3 separate regions of the Homo sapiens genome follow, and all the other regions are linked to region 2. The links are contacts of gene promoters, found by promoter capture Hi-C in human tissues and cell types (Jung and others, 2019). All regions are on one chromosome and are shown on one strand. The core of a region is centred on a gene start or on the middle of the fragment in contact, and the rest is flanking DNA. Distances in the headings are between cores, read along the strand shown. Region 1 overlaps LOC105379034 (a long non-coding RNA gene). Region 2 holds the start of ENC1 (ectodermal-neural cortex 1). Region 3 overlaps LINC02122 (long intergenic non-protein coding RNA 2122).

What was found. The method cuts DNA at HindIII sites, captures the fragments that hold promoters and counts their contacts. A contact is called where the count stands out against the background at its distance.
Region 1: a fragment that was not itself captured here is called in contact with the fragment with the promoter of ENC1 in region 2 in 1 of the 25 tissues and cell types used here (H1 embryonic stem cells).
Region 3: a contact is called between a fragment that was not itself captured here and the fragment with the promoter of ENC1 in region 2, in 1 of the 25 tissues and cell types used here (mesendoderm cells).

What each region holds. Positions count from the first base shown.
Region 1 is chr5:73,967,990-73,970,689 of GRCh38, forward strand. LOC105379034 (a long non-coding RNA gene) reads left to right here. Exons shown (of 4, transcript XR_001742745.1): 2 at 584-666. Among named protein-coding and RNA genes, the nearest start is that of LINC02122, 130 kb to the right of the region's middle. The HindIII fragment of the contact is 3,353 bases long and covers 1-2,700 here.
Region 2 is chr5:74,639,293-74,641,992 of GRCh38, forward strand. It overlaps ENC1 (ectodermal-neural cortex 1), which reads right to left and starts at 1,436. Exons shown (of 3, transcript NM_003633.4): 1 at 1,015-1,436. It also overlaps a transcript of HEXB not described here. RefSeq lists enhancers at 885-1,244, 1,706-2,421, 2,422-2,700 and a silencer at 1,285-1,544. The HindIII fragment of the contact is 27,146 bases long and covers 1-2,700 here.
Region 3 is chr5:74,092,657-74,095,356 of GRCh38, forward strand. All of the region lies in intron 1 of LINC02122 (long intergenic non-protein coding RNA 2122), which reads right to left. Among named protein-coding and RNA genes, the nearest start is that of LINC02122, 9.1 kb to the right of the region's middle. The HindIII fragment of the contact is 5,035 bases long and covers 1-2,700 here.

The sequences.
Region 1 (2,700 bases), core at 193-2,692, 670 kb before region 2:
AGAACTAGGAAAATGAGAAAATAAAATGAAACTTACAGTTTAATTGTGTGAAAGTCAGATCAGTTACAGTCATGTATGTGAGCTGCTCACCACTGAGGTCTCACGACAAGGATTCATGAAGAGGGTCATGAATAGTACTTGACGGCATAAGACTGTGATACTTGATTCCAGCCAAAATGCTGATATTTATGTGCTCAACATGTGTTACTTATATGTCAGGGAGATTTGTCTGTAATGTAAATTCTTTTTAGAGAGCACTGATGGGGAGGCTTTGGTGCCTTACATGTCAAGGTGGGCTAAATTTCCTAACAAGACATTGGGCCCATCCTTGGGTCTGGGCCAGGCACCAGAAGCAGGCTCTGCAGTAAGCATTTACTCTCTCAGCCTCTGCTAGGATTGAAATCACCAAGAACCCAGAGGTGGCTGGGAAACCATCACATCACCATTTCACCAATGACAGCGACAACTGGCTTTTCCCTAGGGATTACTCTGTCCCTGATACTGTGCAAGAGATTTATGCGTGTTGTCTTATTTAGTTCTCACAATTACTATATGAAATAAATTTCTTATTTCTATTTTACAGATGAAGAAAAGGAGGCTCAGAGAGTTTAAGAAACTTACCCTCCTCACACCATGGATAACAGGCAGAGCCAAAAGCAAATGCAGGTCAGTGTGACCCTACACTCAAAGCCTGGGACTCACCCTGCAACAGGCTGGGTGAGGAGCCTTAGGGGCACCTGAGCTTTTGAAGCCACTCTGATGGTAAGTCTTGTCTGAATGCCGAACTGGATTCTTCATGTGACATTTAGAACCCAGCTTGAATCAGATGAAAGGGAGTCTCCTAAAATTCACACACAAGACAAAGGAGGCCTTGCAGCTGAATTTCCACAAAGCCCTGGATGGGGCTGCATCCAAATGTTCTGCATTCCAAATATTCCCTTCTTGCCACGGTGCGGTTTTGGAGTGGGCGGCCTCTTTTCCTGGAGGCTTGTAGGCACATCTTCCTGCAGAATGAGGTGTCACTATCTCCAAAACAGGGTGAAGCATCTTTGAGCTATCTCCAGTTTCTGTTGGGAGGCTTTGAACCTCTCTACAGGAATTGTGTTTCCCCAGTCAGCGATCGGTCACCCGATCGAGAGTTGCCAATAAGATAAGAAACTGCTATCAAGTTTCACCCTTGAAAGTTCTTCCTTCCTTTTCTCACTCTAGGATTAATTCATCTTGAATTTCAAGATAGGGAAAGGTGGGGGTCTTGAAATTTATAGGGATGCATCCCAGAGCAATTTCCAGTGTTTAGCCATAAATATTTTCAAGAGAGATAAAAGCAGTTACTCTAACACTAACTCCCCTGTACAGACTGGCCCCTGGGAGCAGAGAAGTGCAGCCAGCAAGGGAGTGTGGGAAGACTAACCCAACGGGACAGCCACTTATCTTTCCTGTTTGCCCCAGGGAGGGAGGTTGGTGGTGGGGGCTGGCTGCTGTTAGAAGTGCTGAGCATCCCCCACCCCTCCCAATTTGTATTTAATCTCCCTAGCCCTGTATGTTTTTTTCATTGCCAGACCCAGATCTACGACAACAGTTTCCATTTCTTCCCATCTCCCAAGCAGTGAGCAACAAAGGAAAGACATTCTAAGAGCCCATGAAACGTTTTTTTTTTTTATTGAAACCCTGTTCTCCAGAGAGAGATTGAGGAGGCGATTTAAGCAACCTTATTACAAAATAAAAATGTATCCTCCTACTCCATGGCAGGAAATGTGAGAAAGAGAGACAAGCCCATAAAAAAGCACCAAAAAAAAAAAAAAAAAAGTTTGCACAAGGACTAGAACAAAGGAGAGACATTAAATAATTATGTGCAGAAGAAACAAAAACAACATGAGACTCAAAAAGGATCGTTAAAAAAAACAATTTACACAATATTGCCTTAGGCAGGAACTTCTTTGAGATATTATGCATTATATTTCAAATTTTCTAATTAAAAAGATTAATCAAGCTGTGCATAATAGCTGGGATGGGAATCCCTTATCTTTAACAGTATAGTTTATAAGAGCATTCCTGATTTTGTACGGTTGACAGTATTATGAAGGCATTTGACAATACTATCAGAAAGATTTCAGGTGCCTCAAGTTTTGTTTGCAGCTTCATAATTTATCATTATTTAATGGCACCCAAATAAATCTGCTCATTAATGAAGCAGATTAGAAAATAGACACAATTCCGCTTGGTGGCACACACTTGTAGGCCCTGCTACTTGGGAGGCTGAGGCGAGAAGATGGCTTGAGGCCAGCCTGGTCAACACAGTGAGTCTACTATCTCTATTAAAAAAGAAAAAGAAAGAGCAAACAGACACAACATAATACAGCTACATTTCTAGACTATCTAATTCTTCTCACCCACGGCCCCAGTTGGATTGAATAGTCTGCTAAAATTAAAGTGAACAGCAAACACCGAGCTCTGTTTTAGGAAACCTTTTTTGTGTTTTGCTCAGCATTGACATTGGTTATTGATGCCTAATCTTCAATAGATCTTGTAGGCATTCTAGAACTCATGGAGTTAGTGGTTTTTTCCATAGAATAACCATCTCTGTATTTTCACATACAGATGGTTGGGGATTCTGCCCTAGAGTGGGCTAGGACAGGAGGAAATACTTGGAATATCAGGTGCAGCCATGTAAGCAGCTCATTAGAAGGGCTCATTTACTTT
Region 2 (2,700 bases), core at 186-2,685:
CATCTTTCGAGCATTTTTAAGCCCCCAGAGAAATCACATTTGCATACCAAGTAAGTGGCCAAGAAAATGCACACATGTACTTAACCTACGTCTGCAAAGAAGACAGAGAAAGGGCTGCTATTACTGTGAACATCAAAAGGGCTTCAGTTACAGTAACTTCAGTTCACTTCATGCTCCTAACTCAGGCTCTCTGCCTCCAATGCTTAGCGTCCCGCACCCTTCTCCAGGTTTTGAACCTGATCTCAATCCAATCAAAAGAGAAACTAAGCAGATTTTTTTCTGGGCATTTACATTACCGGTAACAATAGAACATTATAAAGATCTTGTTAACAAAAGTAGCTTCTTGCCAGAGTCTTTTTATTAACACTTGCAACGCTATTTAACAAGCTGGCCATGCCTGTGTGACACCAAACCGCATGTGGATAAATTCAGTGTTTCATCTCCAGGCCCACCAATTCCTATCCTTTGTAACTAATAATGTTAACACGACAGATCAAGAAACTAGTTTTTCAGAAAGCAGTTTTCATTCATTCTCTATAGACATTTCCGCCGCAGTGAACATGCCCGCACTCAGGGTGTCTGTGCATGGCCCCAACTTTCCTCCAAGCCGGGGAGGATGCAACGTGGGCCAACCATCCCGCGCGCTCGGCCCTGGAGGCTGCGGGGAGCGACGCAGCGCGACATTCACCCCCAGGAAAGCGCTGCTTTCCGCAGAGGAGAGAGGCTGACTGTATCCTTAGCTCGGCTCCTCGCTTCCCCAGCGGCTCGCCCCAGACATTGCACCGCGGAGGGGAGGCCGGTCGACCTCTCCGGCGATGCCCGGCTTCTGCCTGCTGTGGGAGGGCAGCGGCGGGCACCGTGATCTCCGCACCGAGAAGAGCTCCCCTTGCCCTCTAGTCGAAGCTCCCGAGTGCTCGGAGCACGCTCACCCCTCGCGAACACACCCCTGCAGCCGAAGCAGCCCCTGAAGCCCGCAGCGCCTGCAACAGGTCCGGGGCAGTGGGGGAAACTTACAGCAGTGGCGACTGGCCGCAACGCACAACTGAGTTCTAGCGACGGTCACGGGCAAGGAGGCGACGAACCGGTCGTCTCAGCCCAGGGAAGCGGTGGCGAATGCCCCGGAGAAAGGAGGGCCAGCCGGGGAGAGGACTGCGCCCCGAACGATGGCTCGCGGACCGGCTACCGATGGCGTTCGCCTCCGTCTGTCGTCCCCACGCCGCGGACCCGGTGTCCAGGACCCGCAGAGCGTCTCCGGAGCGCGTCACGGTAGGGCAGAGCAAGCCTGCCACTGCAGGCGCCGCGGAAGGAGGCGGGCTGTGCGCTCGGGGGAGGGAGCTAGAAAGCGCCTTGTGTGCCGGCGGCCGCCAGGCGTCTGGACCGGGTCTCCGCAGCGCCACCGCCGCACCGCCTCCTCTCCGGCTGCCAGAGCAGTCTGCGCCCCGCCGCCGTGCGCCCCGCTATAAGTGGCGCGGCGGGGAGGGGAGGGGGCGCGTATGCAAAGAGACCGACACCGGGGGAGGGAGGAAGCGCATTAGCGCGGCCTGTGGTGTAGGAGGAGGAAGAGGAGGAGAAGGAGTGGGAGGAGGAGAGGAGCTAGAGAAGAGCGTGTCGGGGGAGTTAATCGGGAGAGGAAGCGGGAGAGGGGGGCTGCGGGGAGTGCAGAGAGACAAAGCGGACGCACTGTCTCAGCCGCTGGCAGCTGCAACCCCGGGAACCGAGAATAAAATAAGTTTTCCCGGGTTCGAGTGTCTGCGCCTCTTTGGGCCAGCCTGGTTAATGGACAGCCCCGGATCTGAGGGACCCACCTTAGGGGAGCGCAGCCCGGGGCTGTGCGCTTGGTGATGCCAGAGCCCGCGAGATGCTCTAAAAAGGGCTGCAAGGGGCGAGCTGGGTATCCGCAGGACAGGCCCTGGGCACGCATAGACAGCGCCTTGGGTAGGACACCCAGAGTGGGGAGAGATAGTGGCAATGGACGGGCAAAAGTCTGGACAGTTTAGGGACACTCGGGTTGAGCAAGCCAGGACGTTTAAGTTTCTTGCTGGCAGAGAGCCAAAGAGACTCCAGCCCCAGGCATTTCCTATGTGTCCTCCCTCCCCACTCCCCAGTGGGTGCGGCACCCCCGGCTGGACTCTGCCCTAAGCCAGGCGACTGCAGGGGCAGCCGGGGCGCAGTCCTGCGGGGCGCGCACCACGTGCTTTTCAGCCAATCGCCGCGGCCGCTTGATTCAAAGTGAACTCCTCAAAGCAGCAGCCACGCCGCCTCCTCTCCTAGCGATTAAGCCTCCATCACCTTCTCCTGTTTTTTATCGCTCGGTGGTGTTAGTTTGGAGTTCAGTAAAGAAATGGCCCAGCACACACACACGTTTAATAGTCCCGCGTGTCAGGAGAAGGGAAGGCGATTCGAAAAATAATCTCGCGTGGTGATCACTTTTACGAATCCCATTTATCTTTGCAACTAGAGGCTTGTCTTTCCACTGGGAGTTAAAATATCTGTCTTTTATTCGGTATTTGGAGCTAAGTCTATAAATGAACGGGATAGATGACCGGTCCAGCCCCCTTGTTTTACAGGTGGGGAACCGAGGCCCAGGGAGATGTGAATTGCCTGGCTCGTAGTCACTTAGCAACAATGTCCCAGCTCTGCAGCTCGAGAGTGAGGGCCCCACGACAGAGTTTATTCCGTCCCCGGGTCCCCGCGTCCCCA
Region 3 (2,700 bases), core at 181-2,680, 550 kb before region 2:
CAGCAACATCTTAATATTGCTTACTGGTGGGGATTTCAGGGGCAGCTGCAGCGCCATCCAGACCCTTCTGTGGCATGACCTTGGCTGTGTTTCCAGCACCTGGACTCCGTTGGCACCTGGACATCGCCCAATCTTAGTTCTCCATGCACATTCTTGGTTTTGCAAGTTATTCCGTCTCCTTCCAATAACTTCCTTTTCTGCTTAAATTAACTAGAAATAGTTTCTGTTGTTTGCAACCATGGATCCTGACTAGCCCTGCCTCCTTAAAGTTGTTTCAATGGATGAGTGACTATTTAACAAGTGAGCTATGCTCATGGCATCTTATTAAAAGGGACTGAAAGTAGGAGAGCTTCTTGATTGAAGCTTGAAGGACTTTCACTTCTCCAGCTGCTGGCAGTGGGGAACAGGAAAGGAGGTCATTGAAAGCCAGTAGGAGGTGGTGGTCTATGTTAAATCACCCATGTGACTTTGCTACAGCTCCCACACCCTCAGCTTAAAACCAGGTACTGACAGGCATCCTGTGGATTTATTTTTCCAGCTCTGCCCTACCTGTTTTTCTGGCTCTCCTTTCCAGCCCAAAGTCAGGCCCCACAGCTGGATGAAATAAAATGGTTATATTGGGAGGCCTTAAAATTAGCATGGTTCAATATGTCTTAAAGTTGGGGCCATTCCCTGGGTAAAGAATGGAGGTTTTCTCACTTTCTCTGCTGCAGCTGCTGGGGATAAAAGTCAGGAGCTCTCTGCTCCAAGGGCTCTCCCAACCAGGTCCGACTCTCTCCCCACTACTTTCCAAATTCATTCGCTGCTACATTCACCATGTACCACAGCGAAAGACAACCCCACTCCATCAATGGCACATTATCATGTGGCTTTCCATTTTTCCTAATCACCTTATTCCTTTGCTCTTCCAAAGTTGAGGATAAATTATTTAACAAGTCTCTAGGGTTGACTTTTATGAGAACTTAAAGCCAGTGCCCATCTGCTATAGGTTAGGGTGAGCCAAATGCTGAAAGTTAATCCTTCTTGTTCCACTCTGGAAAATACCCAGCCATGCACACACACACGTGTGCACACGTGAGCAGTCACAGACCCCCACACCCTACAACAGCACCTCCCAAACCACATGGCCCAAGTAGTAAAACATCAAGGCTTGAATCACCATACTCAGGCCAATAAAAACTTAACTTTGCACTCTCATATAGTTGAGCTTGTGCTTGCAAAATTCCCTGCATGTGCCTGGCTCTGTGATTGAAACACTGTCATGCATTTCAGACAAGGGAATAGGTAATATTTAAACATTAATATACATCTATGCCTTTCTGACACATGCATTGAATGTGTGGAGTATCAGAGATGAAAAGTATACAATATACACACACATCATATTGTATAATTGTATAATTTATTAATTTCATCACATTTAGTTTAAGAGGCAGAGATCAGCTAATGCAACAGTTTTCAATCTTTTTCAATAGAAGTGGGTTTGAAACTTGGTCCAGCCACATTCTTACTGGATGGCCTTTCTAAGCCAAAGTTCAATTTTCTTAAATCTGTAAAACAGGGATTAAAAATAGTATGTACCTTACAGTATTACTGTGACGACTAAATGAAATCTTAGCACAAAGCCTGGCAGACAGCCAATGCTATTACTGGCTAAGATCATGGTAGCTATTATTATTATTATTCACCCCTGAATGGATTCTATTTTGCAGCAGTTTGTCCACAAAACTGCATTTATGAATTAGTCATGAATTTACTCTCGCTGACTTTTAGTATTCAGAAACATTAATATCACCCCATCAGAACTTCTCACCGGAAACATCAGTTGTTATAACTTCAATAAAAGATAAAGACCATTTCTAATTAAGTTTAACCTGAGTAGTCTTATTGTCAATGAGTTATAAATATTAGAATTTTAATAAGATTTGTGATACTTTTATGTAGAACTGGCTTAATGCAATTTCATGTTTCAGAAGAGGAAACAGATGTCCAGAGAGGGGACCATGCCTCAGGCCACAAAGCAGCAACACAAACTCAGGTCTCGAACCATGAGGCCCCCCTCTTCAGTCTACTTTGGCTTGTATTTATATCCAACTAAGGGCATACGGAAGGTCTGGTATATTTTACGGGCCATGTCCTTAATCAGGAACCATGCTGAAAACCTATTGGATTATGTGTCTAGAAACTTACCTCATCCTAACCCTAGCCTTTTTTTGGAAACTGCTCTCCCCATCCCCCACCATGGCTCCTGGTGGCCACGTTTGTAAGATATGAATCAACCCCGGCCACAGTCACTGGGCCCAGATTGGGCCCAATAGTCACTGGGCCAGGTTGGGCCAATAGGAATATTTCTTAGGAAGACGGAATGAAGTGGAGAGAGATCTAGTCTTCTCCAGGTGGATAAACATCATTATTGGTTATATTTTCAAAAGGTGTGTCCAGGGAAGCAGAGGAAGCCAAGGTGTAAAAAGAGAAGAAACAAGACCCATTATGACTAGAGATAGGAGAGTCAGATTCCTCATGGCTGTCTCTCTCAGATTCCAGTTTATTTTGAGATCCACTGCATGCTTGCCCTTGGGTTTTTGGAAGCACTGTTGAGTAAATTCTTTCCTGGCTTAAGCTAACATGAGTCTTTTCTCAACTAAGGATTTGAGAAATGGGGTTGTATTCCAGAATGCTGGAGCAGTAAGCAGTCCACAC